3 separate regions of the Homo sapiens genome follow, and all the other regions are linked to region 1. Evidence: promoter capture Hi-C in 16 types of primary human blood cells and fetal thymus (Javierre and others, 2016). All regions are on one chromosome and are shown on one strand. Each heading gives the region's core, a stretch centred on a gene start or on the middle of the fragment in contact. The rest is flanking DNA. Distances are from core to core; before and after follow the strand shown.

Evidence for each region. The method cuts DNA at HindIII sites, captures the fragments that hold promoters and counts their contacts. A CHiCAGO score of 5 or more calls a contact.
Region 2: a fragment that was not itself captured here is called in contact with the fragment with the promoter of DYNLRB1 in region 1 in 1 of 17 cell types (M2 macrophages); the score reaches 5.4 in M2 macrophages.
Region 3: a fragment that was not itself captured here is called in contact with the fragment with the promoter of DYNLRB1 in region 1 in 1 of 17 cell types (megakaryocytes); the score reaches 5.0 in megakaryocytes.

What each region holds. Positions count from the first base shown.
Region 1 is chr20:34,513,965-34,518,140 of GRCh38, reverse strand. DYNLRB1 (dynein light chain roadblock-type 1) reads right to left here and starts at 1,719. Exons shown (of 4, transcript NM_014183.4): 1 at 1,680-1,719. The coding sequence starts at 1,682. RefSeq lists enhancers at 1,188-1,367, 1,034-1,899, 2,288-2,527, 2,638-2,697 and a silencer at 1,718-1,827. The HindIII fragment of the contact is 8,760 bases long and covers 1,157-4,176 here.
Region 2 is chr20:34,179,351-34,183,526 of GRCh38, reverse strand. No RefSeq gene overlaps it. Among named protein-coding and RNA genes, the nearest start is that of ASIP, 60 kb to the left of the region's middle. The HindIII fragment of the contact is 3,228 bases long and covers 280-3,507 here.
Region 3 is chr20:34,771,844-34,776,019 of GRCh38, reverse strand. The region is part of intron 4 of NCOA6 (nuclear receptor coactivator 6); the gene reads left to right. Among named protein-coding and RNA genes, the nearest start is that of NCOA6, 52 kb to the left of the region's middle. The HindIII fragment of the contact is 1,998 bases long and covers 1,168-3,165 here.

The DNA.
Region 1 (4,176 bases), core at 470-2,969:
AAAACAAAACAAAAACAACAACAAAAACGAAAAAAAAAACCTACCATAAATCAGCAATACCACTACTGGGTATTTATTCAAAGGAACGGAAATTAGTACATCAAAGGCATCCCTACATCCTCATGTTCATATTGCAGCACTATTCATAATAGCTAAATTATGGAATTAGCGTCCATCAATAGGTAAATGGATAAAGAAAATGTGGGCCAGGCGTGGTGGCTCACGCCTGTAATCCCAGCACTTTGGGAGGCTGAGGCGAGCAGATCACGAGGTCAGGAGATCGAGACCACCGTGTTGAGGCGGACTAACACGGTGAAACCCCGTCTCTACTAAAAATACAAAAAATTAGCTGGGCGTGGTGGTGGGCGCCTGTAGTCCCAGCTACTCGGGAGGCTGAGGCGGGAGAATCACTTGAACCTGGGAGGCGGAGGTGGCAGTGAACTAAGATGGTGCCACTGCACTCCAGCCTGAGCGACAGAGACACACTCCATCTCAAAAAAAAAAAAAAAAAAAGAAATAATGAATGTTTAAGGTGATGGATATTCTATAATAAATATAGCCTGATTTGATCATTACACATCATATGCATGTATCAAAATATTACATGTATATCTACAACATAAATGTGTACAACTATTATATATCAATTTTTTTTACAGCTTAAGAAGTGATGTGAAAAATGAAGTTATACATATTTGAAGCATTATTACATGTTTGTAATGATGTGGAGATATTGTGGTGTAATAATGAAAAACACAGAACCCACAATTGCACATTCAATAGGGGCTAAACTGTATAAACCAAAAACAAGCAAAAAAGACTAGAAGTCATATGACTACTGTAAGTGGTTGCCTCTAGGTGATGACACGGTTTCTTTTTTCAATTTTTTTATTACAAGCTCTAGATTTCTAAATAAGATTTTTGAAAAAGTAATATATTCACATGGCTTAAAATTTGAAACTTTTTCAAATTTTGCCCAAGCTGTGAGGATTACAAACACAAAACCTGTAACGGCGTTGAGAACCCACAGCTGCAGCAAGCAAGGTAGAAAGCAAGCTTTGGGATCCCCAAGAGCAGACCCCGCCCGTTCCTGACTCTGGCACCCAGTCCCAGCGGCTAGAAAGAACCACGCCGACAGAGTGGCGGCCGTCAAGCTTCTAGGGTTCAAATCCATCTCCACTATTTCCTGGGGCAAAGCACTTGGCTTCTCGGGGCGCTGAATAACAGATATGTATAACAAAATGGGACTAAAGATTGTATCTACCTCACAGAGCTGGGAGGAGGCGGAGGAAATACAAGATACATAAAGTGCTTGGCAGAGCCTGCCACAAACTGAGCTCCCGGGAAACGTTGCCAGGGTTGCCATCGCGCACCAAGGCCCCAAAACTCTAGGCTGCAGGGCCGCCGCCCACCCCTCGCCCATCATCTCTTCCTGGCCGAGGCTGGGCTCCCGCTTCCGGTCAAGGGGCAGCGGGATCCGGCGGCCCCGCCTCGGTCAGGCTTTAGAGGCCTCCGCCGCCGGGTTCCACCCTCAAGTCGGCTGGGGCCCGGGCCCGGCCACGCCCAGCCACCACCGATTCCCTGTCCGGAGCTCTGAGATCCCCTCATCCTCGGAAGACTGAAGGCCTGGCGTGGGGTGGTGGGCGGCCGCCAGCCACAAGACCCCGGCGCACGCTCACCATTTCCGACCGATCCGGTAGCCCCGCGTAGCGAACACTTAGCGAGTCCTGTGCCTTTCTGCGCCTGCGCAAAGGTTTCTGTCAAAACGGACAGCTCTAGCTGCCTATCAGGAGCCAGCGTGAGGCGGGGGCGGGCGAGCCGATCTTGGCTCCGCCAGGATTCTTGGAAAATCTGCTTTCCACTGTGGCAAAGCGAAAAGCTAAGGAGCAGTGCGCTAAGCTGTGGAAAATTCCCAACTCCAGCCGTGCAGAAAAGATGCTGGTTCTGGCTGGACGCGGTGGCTTACGCCTGTAATTCCAGCACTTTGGGAGGCCGAGTCGGAAGGATTGCTTGAGCCCAAGAGTTCGAGACCAGCCTGGGCAACATGGAGAGACCCCTTCTCTACTAAAAAATAAACAAAATTAGCCGGGCGTGGTGGCGCGCTCGTGTAGTTCCAGTTACTCCAGAGGCTGAGGTAGGAGGATCGCCTGACCAGGAGTTCGAGGCTGCAGTGAGCCGAGATTGCGCCACTGCACCCCAGCCTGGGCGACAGAGCAAGAGACCCTGACTAAAACAAAACAAAACAAAAACCATGCTGGTTCTCGGTATCGGAAGAGGCTTTCAGTGCTGGTTCTCGGTATCGGAAGAGGCTTTCAGCTCTCAATGGAGGTCTAAGCTGGTTCTGGAGTCCCTGAGTGGAGCGTGGTGGGAGGGTATGAAGGCAAGTGGGACGGTTGCTGAGACCCGCTTTGCGCCCAGACTGAGCCAGAGAGAGGCCCAGGGCCAAAATGCGCTTCGGGATCGGGCAGGCCTGGGGTGGGGCTGGAGTCAGGTACCTCGAGTCTCCGGGTAAGATGCCGTGCAAGCTCGGAGATGAATTGGTTAGGGCTGGCCTGGGAGTCTTTAGAATCCGAGCTCAGCCCCGCCTCGCGTTACCTAGCAGAAGGCACTTCACATCTGTGTGTTCTGTCTTGTTCTCACCTCTGAAAGGGGGACTCTTCCCAGAGCCCTATGTTGTCCTGTTCCGGCAGGCCGCAAACGTTTCTGGGTCCTCTAGGAGTAAATAACTTCTGTTAAAACATGCTGCCGTTTAGTGAACCCTGTGCCACATTACTGTGCTGAACACGCACATAACGTTATCTCCGGTAGCTTCAGGGAAGTATCGGTAACCTCGATACTTTATAAATGCTGTTTCTCCCAGGCACTGTAGCTTGCTGGATTCAACGATGATCTAACTCCAAAGTTTCATTCCACAGTAGCTGCTCTTCAGTGAGGAAGGATTTGGTTCTCCTTCCAGGAGTGTCTGCATGTTAAGAGGATTGACTTTACTGCGAAGAAACCTAGCAGACACCACCGTAACCAGATCAAAGTTAGTATTACTGGCAAGGGGAGATATTGATGCCGTGTGCCCCGATAAAAATGCGTTAAGGGCACATCACCTCCGAGTCATTTTCCACAAAAACTCCCAGCCTTAAACCATGAGAAAATTTCACTAAATCCAGTGTGAGGGATGTTCTACAAGATACCTGTACCCCGCCCCCGCCCCCCAAAATCTCAAAGTCATGAAAGCAAGGAATGAATGCGGAACTGTCACAGATTAGAGGAGTAAGGAGAAAGAAAAATAACATGGGTGGGAAAATTGGTGAAATCTGAGTAAGGGCTGTAGTTTAGTGTTATTTTTACCAGTGTTAATTTATTAGTTTTGGTAATTCTAGCATGGTTATATGGGATCATAACATTGGAGAAAGCTGGGTGAAGACTGTGCAGGAACTCTTAACCATTTTTGCAACAGCTCTGTAAATGTAAAATTATTTCAAAATAAATTTTTAAAAGGACTGGATCCAAAGGAATTTCTATTGAATGCTGGAAACATTAGGAAAGCATTTAGCAAGGGGAAGAAGTGCTGCAGAGACTGGACCCTAAAACATCCTGGAAGATAAGCACTGGAAGAATCACCACTGTCTTGCCCATGGAGAACCAGACTGAGAGGAGTGAAAGGATTTTAACAGATTACAATCCCAGAAGCAAAAAAGAGAATGGCCAATAGTTCATGTGACAGGAGCCAAAATGAGAATGAAGGAGGAGCTGGAATAGGACCAAGAATGTCCCGGAGTGGCAGGCTTAGAGTTTTGGCCCGGCGCAGTGGCTCACACCTGTAATCTCAGCACTTTGGGAGGCCAAGGTGGGCGGATCACGAGGTCAGGAGTTCGAGACCAGTCTGGCCAACATAGTGAAAGCCCCTCTACTAAAAATACACAAAAAATTAGCCGGGGGTGGTGGTGTGCGCCTGTAACCCCAGCTATTCGGGAGGCTGAGGCAGGAGAATCGCGTGAACCCAGGAGGCGGCGGTTGCAGTGAGCCAAGATCGCCCCACTGCACTCCAGCCTGGGCGACAGAACAAGACTCCGTCTCAAAAAAAAGAAAAAAAAGTTTTATTCTGCGGTAATGGAGAAACCACTGTAAAATTTTAGGTAGAGGAGGCATGAGACAGGTCTTCCACAGATAATCCTGAGGTAG
Region 2 (4,176 bases), core at 644-3,143, 330 kb after region 1:
AATATTTCATGAAAGAATTTGACTCTCTGGACAGAGATGGAATGGAATATGGACAGTGCACAGACTTCCAAATCATTTAAACTCTGAGAGCCTCAGTTTCTCATTGATGCAAAAAGTGTTTTTAAAATGGGAACAGTAAACCTACATCATAAGCAAAGAGTAAATGAGATAGTTATATAAAGTAATTAGCACAGAATGTGATACACACAAAAGGATTTTCTTTCCTCTGTACTTTTTCTTTTACTGACCTGTATAGTCATCCCATTGGATTTGAAAGCTTTCCTGAGTCTTCTGGAGCTCCTGGTGCCATTTCCTTCATAGCTCCAGGAGCTCTCCAGACACCAGAGGAGATATTCCTAAGCCAGGGAGGCTTTGTTCACTCTCTATGGATAAATAAGATAGATAAGCACTCTAAATACTTTTTATTGTCTATCCTTGAGCACATATGACCATGTTGGGCATAGGGACTTTGGCTAGGCAAAACATTTCCAATTTTATCTTCATTTCTACTTCACAGAACTTTATTATTAGAAGAGCTCTGGTAGGGCTCAGTGGCTCACACCTATAATTTGAGCACTTTGGGAGGCCAAAGTGGGAGAATTACTTGAGGCCATGACTTTGAGACCAGCCTGGGCAACATAATGAGACCTGCCTCTACAATTAATAAATAAATTAGCCAGACGTGGTGGCACATGCTTGTGGTCCCAGCTAGTCTGGAGGCTGAGGTGGGGAGAATTGCTTGAGCCCAGTAAGTCAAAGCTGCAGTGAGCCATGATCATGCCACTGCACTCCAGCCTGGGTGACAGAGACAGACTTTGTTTAAAAAAAAAAAAAAAAGTTCTTGGAGATAATACAGTATATAACTTTTATTTTACATATTTTTAAAAAACCAAAACAAATTTAGCCTAAAGCAATTAAGTGATTAGTTAGTGGCAGAACTGTGAAGTATAGTTGGGTGTCTTTTGATGTCTTTCCCAGTGCTCTTTCCAATATATCAGGCTATTATATACTTCTATATGTTGGAAAGTCCCATTCACTTTTCACATTTCCATCAACATTGGCAACCCAGTTTTTCGGCGAAATTCAGAGACATCCTATATGGGACCTTTGGCTTGTTTACCAAAGGACGAGGAAGATCAAGTGATTGATACAAGTTGAGAATCACTAATCTGAAAATCTGAAATGTTCCAAAAGCTGATGCTTTGTAAGTGCTGACATGAAGCTCAAAGGAAAAGCTCACTGGAGCATTTTGGCTTTTGGATTTGGGATGTTCAATCAGTTCATTGAGTTAACCATTTCTCTAAGGAGTCCTGGTTCCATGAATAATTTTTTAGGCCAGGCACGGTGGCTCATGCCTGTAATCCCAGCACTTTGGGAGGCCGAGGTGGGCAGATCACTTGAGGTCAGTTTAAGATCATCCTGGCCAACGTGGTGAAACCCCGTTTCTACAAAAATTAGCTGGGCATGGTGGTGCACGCCTTTAATCCCAGCTACTCAGCAGGCTGAGGCAGGAGAATCGCTTGAACCTGGGAGGCAGAGGTTGCAGTGAGCTGAGATCATACCACTGTACTCCAGCCTGGGTGACAGAGCAAGATTCCGTCTTGGGGGAAAAAAAAAGTAAAAAAGAAAAAAGAAAGATCTCAATAAACATTAATTGATTATGAAGGTGTGGGAATCTGGGGGCACAAATGTCAATAAATGAAAGTTTTTTTTAGGGGGAACATTTTGTAATCATTGAGGCAGGAAAATAGGGTCTAGAGGCAGGGAACATAAGGCCAATTCCCACTTCAGCTAGGACAGGAAATATCCTCTCCATAGGGCATAGGCCAAGTAAATAGCTTTGTATCTTTACTTCATCCTCTCTATTTGCATAGGGCATACCTGAAGTAACCAATAGAATCCTCTAGAGGGTATTTAAACTCCCCAAAATTCTGTAATGGGGCCCTTGAGCCCCTACGCTCGTACCTGCTCCCACACTGTGGAGTGTGTACTTTCATTTTCAATAAATCCCTTCATTCCTTCCTTGCTTTGTTTGTGCATTTTGTCCAATTCTTTATTCAAGATGCCAAGAATCTAGACACCCTCTTAAATGTGACAATCATCTTAAATGTTACATTTTTTCCCCTAGGTACAACTCTCCTAGGTATAATAATCTTACCTGTTTCTTCTGCTGAGTGTTCATGTGTGAAATAAAAAATGAGTATAAGGAACACTTTATTGAACCTGAGGGTGCTCATGGACTGTCAATATAGGGGAGAAGATATTGCTCAGAAAAATTTAAACCCTGCAAAAAGTTTGCCGGGAATGTTAATTTGAAAGTGCCCCCACCATAGAATGAGAGAGCTTTAGTGAGGAGGGCAAACAGCATCATGTAAAGTGCCCAAGATTAAGGAGAAACAGCTGGATGGCACAAACTGTTTTAATTGTGTGGAAGATAATTGGCCCAACTGGTTTGTGAAATATTAGGAAACAAAGGCACACCAGAGAAAAACAAATAATGATGCAAAACTGCTGAAGCGCAACAATGAGATTCATTTCAACCTAAATTATGCCTTAAGGCACAGTCTCTGCAAACTAGGAAAGTATTTCTTTTTTTTTTTTTTTTGAGACAGAGTCTCGCTCCATCGCCAGGCTGGAATGCAGTGGCGCAGTCTTGGCTCACTGCAACCTCTGCCTCCTGGATTCAAATGATTCTCCTGCGTCAGCCTCCCAGGTAGCGCGGATTACAGGCATGTGTCACCATACCCAGCAAATTTTTGTATTTGTAGTAGAGATGGGATTTCACCATGTTGGCCAGGCTGGTCTTGAACTCCTGACCTTCTGATCCGCCCGCCTCGGCCTCCTAGAGTGCTGGGATTACAGATGTGAGCCACCGCGCACGGCCCAGAAAATATTTCGATTGAAGTTTTCTAAACCTGCTTTGGAGCTTTAGGAAGTTGTAAATATATCAGATTTTGAAAAATGGTCTCCAATAAAACTTCAGTTCTCTTCCTTATTAGAGGATTTTATATTGTCTTGTTGTTTGATCAAATTTTCTATAAAGGCTTTGTGAGTTATAAGGTCTCTGTGACAGCTACTCAACTCTACTTGTCCAAAAGCAGCCACAAAGGTTTGTAAACAAGTGGGCACGACTGTCCAGTAATACTTTATTTACGAAAAAACGGGGTGGGCCAGATTTGGCCTGCTTGCTGATGTAGTTTACCAACCCCTGATCTATCTGATCAAACCCAAATGCTTCACTCTGGCAGAACATTTCATCATTTGTCTCTGCCGAATCTTTCATTGTTTTCAACATTTAGTCTAGTTCCAGTCCAGATGTCCTCCCATCTCCCAAGTGGTCTGCTCATTCTTGCTTTCAGAACTTTGCATATGTGGATTCCTCATCAGCCTCTTCCCTACATTCCGCCTTTTCAAGTCCTACCCATCCTTTAAGTGTCTGACTATAGCTTCTTCATGATGCCTTTACGGGTAACTCCAACAAACATCCTTTCTCCTTTTTCTCAAGCTTTTGTGACTATCCATAACTCTTAGTATAGCAAAATATTTTGAACTCACTGTGGGGCCGTAATAAATCAATAAGTTAATGGAACCAGGAAGGAACCAGGCTGGTGGAATAGGGACTTAACCTGGTTTGTAATTCCTTTAAAGGGTGTGGAAAAACCGCAGCCACTATCTTGCAACTCCAGAAATGAAAGGCATGCTGGTTGCAAGATGGCTAAGAACAGCAGAGTGTTTCCCTTGGGCACCTGAAGAGGAAAGGCCTGGCAGTGAAAAATTACTGCCACGTATTCTTAGTATACAGCACAAGCTCACTTGTACATAGATCTCTCCAACACTGTCCTATAAAACCCTCTTGCCGGGCGTGGTGGCTCACACCTGTAATCCCAGCACTTTGGGAGGCAGAGGCGGGCAGATCATGAGGTCAGGAGTTAGAGACCAGCCTGGCCAATATGGTGAAACCCCGTCTCTACTAAAAATACAAAAATCAGCCAGGTATGGTGGCGAGTGCCTGTAGTCCCAGCTACTCAGGAGGCTGAGGCATAAGAGTCGCTTGAACCCAGGAGGTGGAGGTTGCAGTGAGCCGAGATCATGCCACTGCACTCCAGCCTGGGCGACAGACCCTGGGTGACTCCGTCTCAAAAAAAAAAACAAAACAAAAAACCCTGTCACATTTCT
Region 3 (4,176 bases), core at 917-3,416, 260 kb before region 1:
GCATCCTGACCAGGAATTGATTTGTCTTATTTATTTATTTAGTTGTGTGGTTTTCTTTGTTATTGTTGTTATTTTTAGAGACAGTGTCTTTCTGTGTTGCCCAGGCTGGACTCAAACTCTTGGCCTCAGATGATCCTCCCATCTCAGCCTCCTGAGTAGCTGGGACTACACCTATACCACTGTACCCAGCTTAACATATAATTTAATTTGCTTCCTTCCTTCCACCAAATAAACTTTAGTATTTTCTTTATTCGTCTAACAGATTATGAAGCCTTCAACAGTCCTTTCCTTTTGTAGCAGCATTCATTTTCTTTTCTTTTTTTTTTCTTTTTTTTTTTTTTTTTTTTGAGACAGAGTCCCAGGATGGAGTGTAGTGGCATGATCTCAGCTCACTGCAACCTCCACCTCCCAGGTTCAAGTGATTCTCCTGCCTCAGCCTCCTGAGTAGCTGGTATTACAGGCATGTACTACCATGCCCAGCTAATTTTTGTATTTTTAGTAGAGATGGGGTTTCACCGTCTTGGCCAGGCTGGTCTCAAACTTCTGACCTCAGGTGATCCACCCTCTCGGCCTCCCAAAGTGCTGGGATTACAGGCCATCACGCCGGCCCGCAGTGTTCATTTTCAGTATTTTTACCAGAATGATCTTTTTCAAAATGAGAATTTGATGAGCACGTGCACGCACGCACAGACACACACACACACACACACACACCTACACCCCTATAACCCTACACCCCTAGATTAAAATCCTGCTATCTCTTGGTATTATTCAAAGAATGAAGACCAAACTCCTTACCATGACCTCAGGCTTTGCATGGTCTCACCTCTACCTTCCTCATCCAGCCTTATCTTGTGTAACTTTCCTCCCTTGCCCCCTGTGTTCCAGCTTCTCAGCTTTCTCTTCCTCCTGCCACAGGTCCTTTGCATTGATGTCTTCTCTAAATGAAATACTATTCCCTACCAACCCCCTTCCCCTAGTTCATGCCTGCTCAGCCTTCAAGTATCAGCTTAAATCTTGAGGATGTATTTTCTGAACTCCTTTGGCAAGTCAGAGTCCTTTGCTATGTGCTCTCACAAAAGTTTGTTTCTCTCCCTCAGATCATTTATCTCACACTTTCATAGAGCAATTATTTGATTATTGTTTTATCCCCATAGACTATAAGCTTTAGCATTTGGAATACAATGATAAATATTGTCCTTATTGTTATAAACTCGGAAGAGCTTATGACTTTAGTAAGGAAGACAAACCTGTGAGAGATGTAAGTACCTACCATGTGTGGGGGAGCTCTTTGGAAGCTCAGTGAACTAGAACCCTCTCTTCCCCTCCTGTGTTGATACAGCCAGGTGACAACCAGCAATTCCAGCTTTCCCTTCCACTTTAGTCCAGGTCCTCCTGGCCCTGTGCTTACGTAGAACCTAATTGCTCCATGAAACCTGAGCAGTCGAGGTCATTTTGTTTATAGGAGTGAGACACATTTTATGCAGTCTAGCATTGTAGGTTGCTGTGCCCTCAAAGGGGCAATACCAACAAACAAATTATTTAGAAAGGGTTATATGTAGATTGAGAAATGGGATAATTTTCACCATTTGATAAATGAGAGAATAGTGGCTTAAGCAATACCACTTTAATTTGAAAAATGTGGAACTATCTAAAAGGATCCAGAAAAGTACAATTAATTCACAGCAATCTGTAGGATGAACTATTAGGAAAAGTGGAAGTCGAACAACTATTGGATAAAATAACAATATGTGGGCTGTTTATACTTTAAGGAATACATAAGTGGTTTCTTTAAAACCCCACATGTTTTTTGGTCTCTGTTACCTATTTAAAGGCTTCAAAACCTTAATTGATAGTGTTTTTCACTGGAGAAAGAAGTACCAGTTTTATTTCTTAAGCAGACCTACTTCCTAAAACAATATAATGCTGGTTCTCCCTTAACATTATAGCCATAAATTTAAACATGAGTACTAGCAAGGAAGCAAATAGATAACATATTTTAAGAAATTATGAAATTCACATATGACAATGATTATCACAATACAGAAAGAGTTCTTTAACTTTTAGGCTACATGTGTGTCCCAGATGATCTCTGTTCCCATGCTCCTGGGAATTCAGCAGGAGTGAAAGTGATGGCAGCAGCTATTGCTTTTGTGGAACTGGGCTGTTGATTTTGTAAGTTGTAAGAAGAATGTTGGCCAGCCACGGTGGGTCACACCTGTAATCCCAACACTTTGGGAGGCCAAGGTGGGTGGATCACTTGAGGGGAGGAGTTTGAGACCAGCCTGGCCAACATGGTGAAACCCCGTCTCTACTAAAAATATAAAAATTAGCCGAGCATGGTGGGGCGTGCCTATAGTCCCAGCTACTCGGGAGGCTAAGGCAGGAGAATTGCTTGAACCCAGGAGGTGGAGGTTGCGGTGAGCCGAGATCATGCCACTGCACTCCAGCCTGGGTGTCGAGCAAAATTTTCCTGGGTGGAGGTTGCGGTGAGCCGAGATCACGCCACTGCACTCCAGCCTGGGCGACAAGAGCAAAATTTTGTCTCAAAACAACAACAACAAAAAAGAAGGAATGAAGCAATGTTGCCACTATCGTGTCTGCTGCAAGGCTTGAGGGACAGGTTCTCCCAACAGTCCGTTCTCCATTGACAAATACTTCCTGTACCCTTCCTTTTTTAAGTTTTGGCCAGGGAATTGGGGAAACATCTTTTTTGAGGACATTTTGTGCCCCCTCTGTAAATTCATGGTGATCTAAAGAGTAGTCTGCTAACTTTTTCTGTAAAGGGCCAAGAATAAATATTTTTGGCTTTGCAGGCCATAAGATCTCAACTCAACAAGTACTCAGTTCCATCTTGTAGGGCAAAAACAGCCATAGGCGATATGTAAACAAGTAAACATGGCAGGATTTCAGTAACACTTTATTTAAATAAACATGCAGTGGGCTGCATTTGGCCCACAGGACGTAGTTTGTGGACCCCTAATTGGCAAGTTTGGGAGCCGGTAGTGTTCTCTTTGACACAAATTAGCATATATGCAGTTGGTAAATAGGGGAATGATAGCAGTATAGTGTGGAAATTCTGTTTATTAATATGTGATTTTTTTTCTTAGGTAAGAGGAGCTGGAATAGTAGAAATAGAATTATAATTATCAACAAGAAAAAGCTTTTCACTCAGCTGTTGCATGTGTGGGAGTCTTTTCAGCTCTATTAAAATTAAGAATGAGAGTGTATATTCGTATGCCTTCCTGACGTGCATCCCCCAGCCTTGTGTGGCTCTCAGTTCATGACAGGTTGCATTTCTTCCTGTGCCCACCATAATGGCAGCCCCGCTGGCTCAGAACTCCACTACATGTGCATTATCTCAGCACCTTTAACCAGGCATTTCTGCTGCATTTTTTTCTGGCATTTTGCCTCCACCAGTTATTGTTTTTATTAGAGCTCTGGTTACAAAGTCTCACAGGTTTTCAGTTTGCCCTAACCCTGTTATTGTCAGTATGAGATTTGATAAATGTGAGGTTTTCCAGGAAGTAATTTGTCATATAGAAAAATGCTTATAATTCTTTATAAGGTTATAAGATGACCATTATATTTAATAAATAGCTAATGAGCATCTGCCACGTACCAGGCACTATTTTATGTATAAATGATGTATTATAGATAGTCATATAATTTATCATCTAAATTAGGACACTTTTTTTTTTTTTTTGAGACAAAGTCTCACTGTGTTGCCTAGGTTGGAGGGCAGTGGTACAAACACAACTCACTGTAGCCCCGGCCTCCTGGGCTTAAGCAATCCTCCCATCTCAGCCTCCTGAGTAGCTAGGACCACAGGTGCGTGCCACCACGGACCTGACTAATTTTTTATAGAGACGGGGTCTCACCATGTCGCTAGTCTTGAACTCCTGGTCTGAAGCAATCCTCCCACCTTGGCCTCCCAAAGTGCTGGGATTAACAAATGTGAGTCACCATGCCTAGCCTAAATTAGGACATTTCTGAAAGTGAAAGAGAATGCTATTAATTATGCTGGAACAACAGATGTGAAGGAACAAGGACAGACTTGTAATTAACCCTGTATAGTGATGGGGGAGGCAAGCAAGAAAACGAGTGAGTGAATGATTACATGGAATGTGCTCTGCAGAAATAACAAGATGTTCTGATAAAAGTTACCTAACCTTG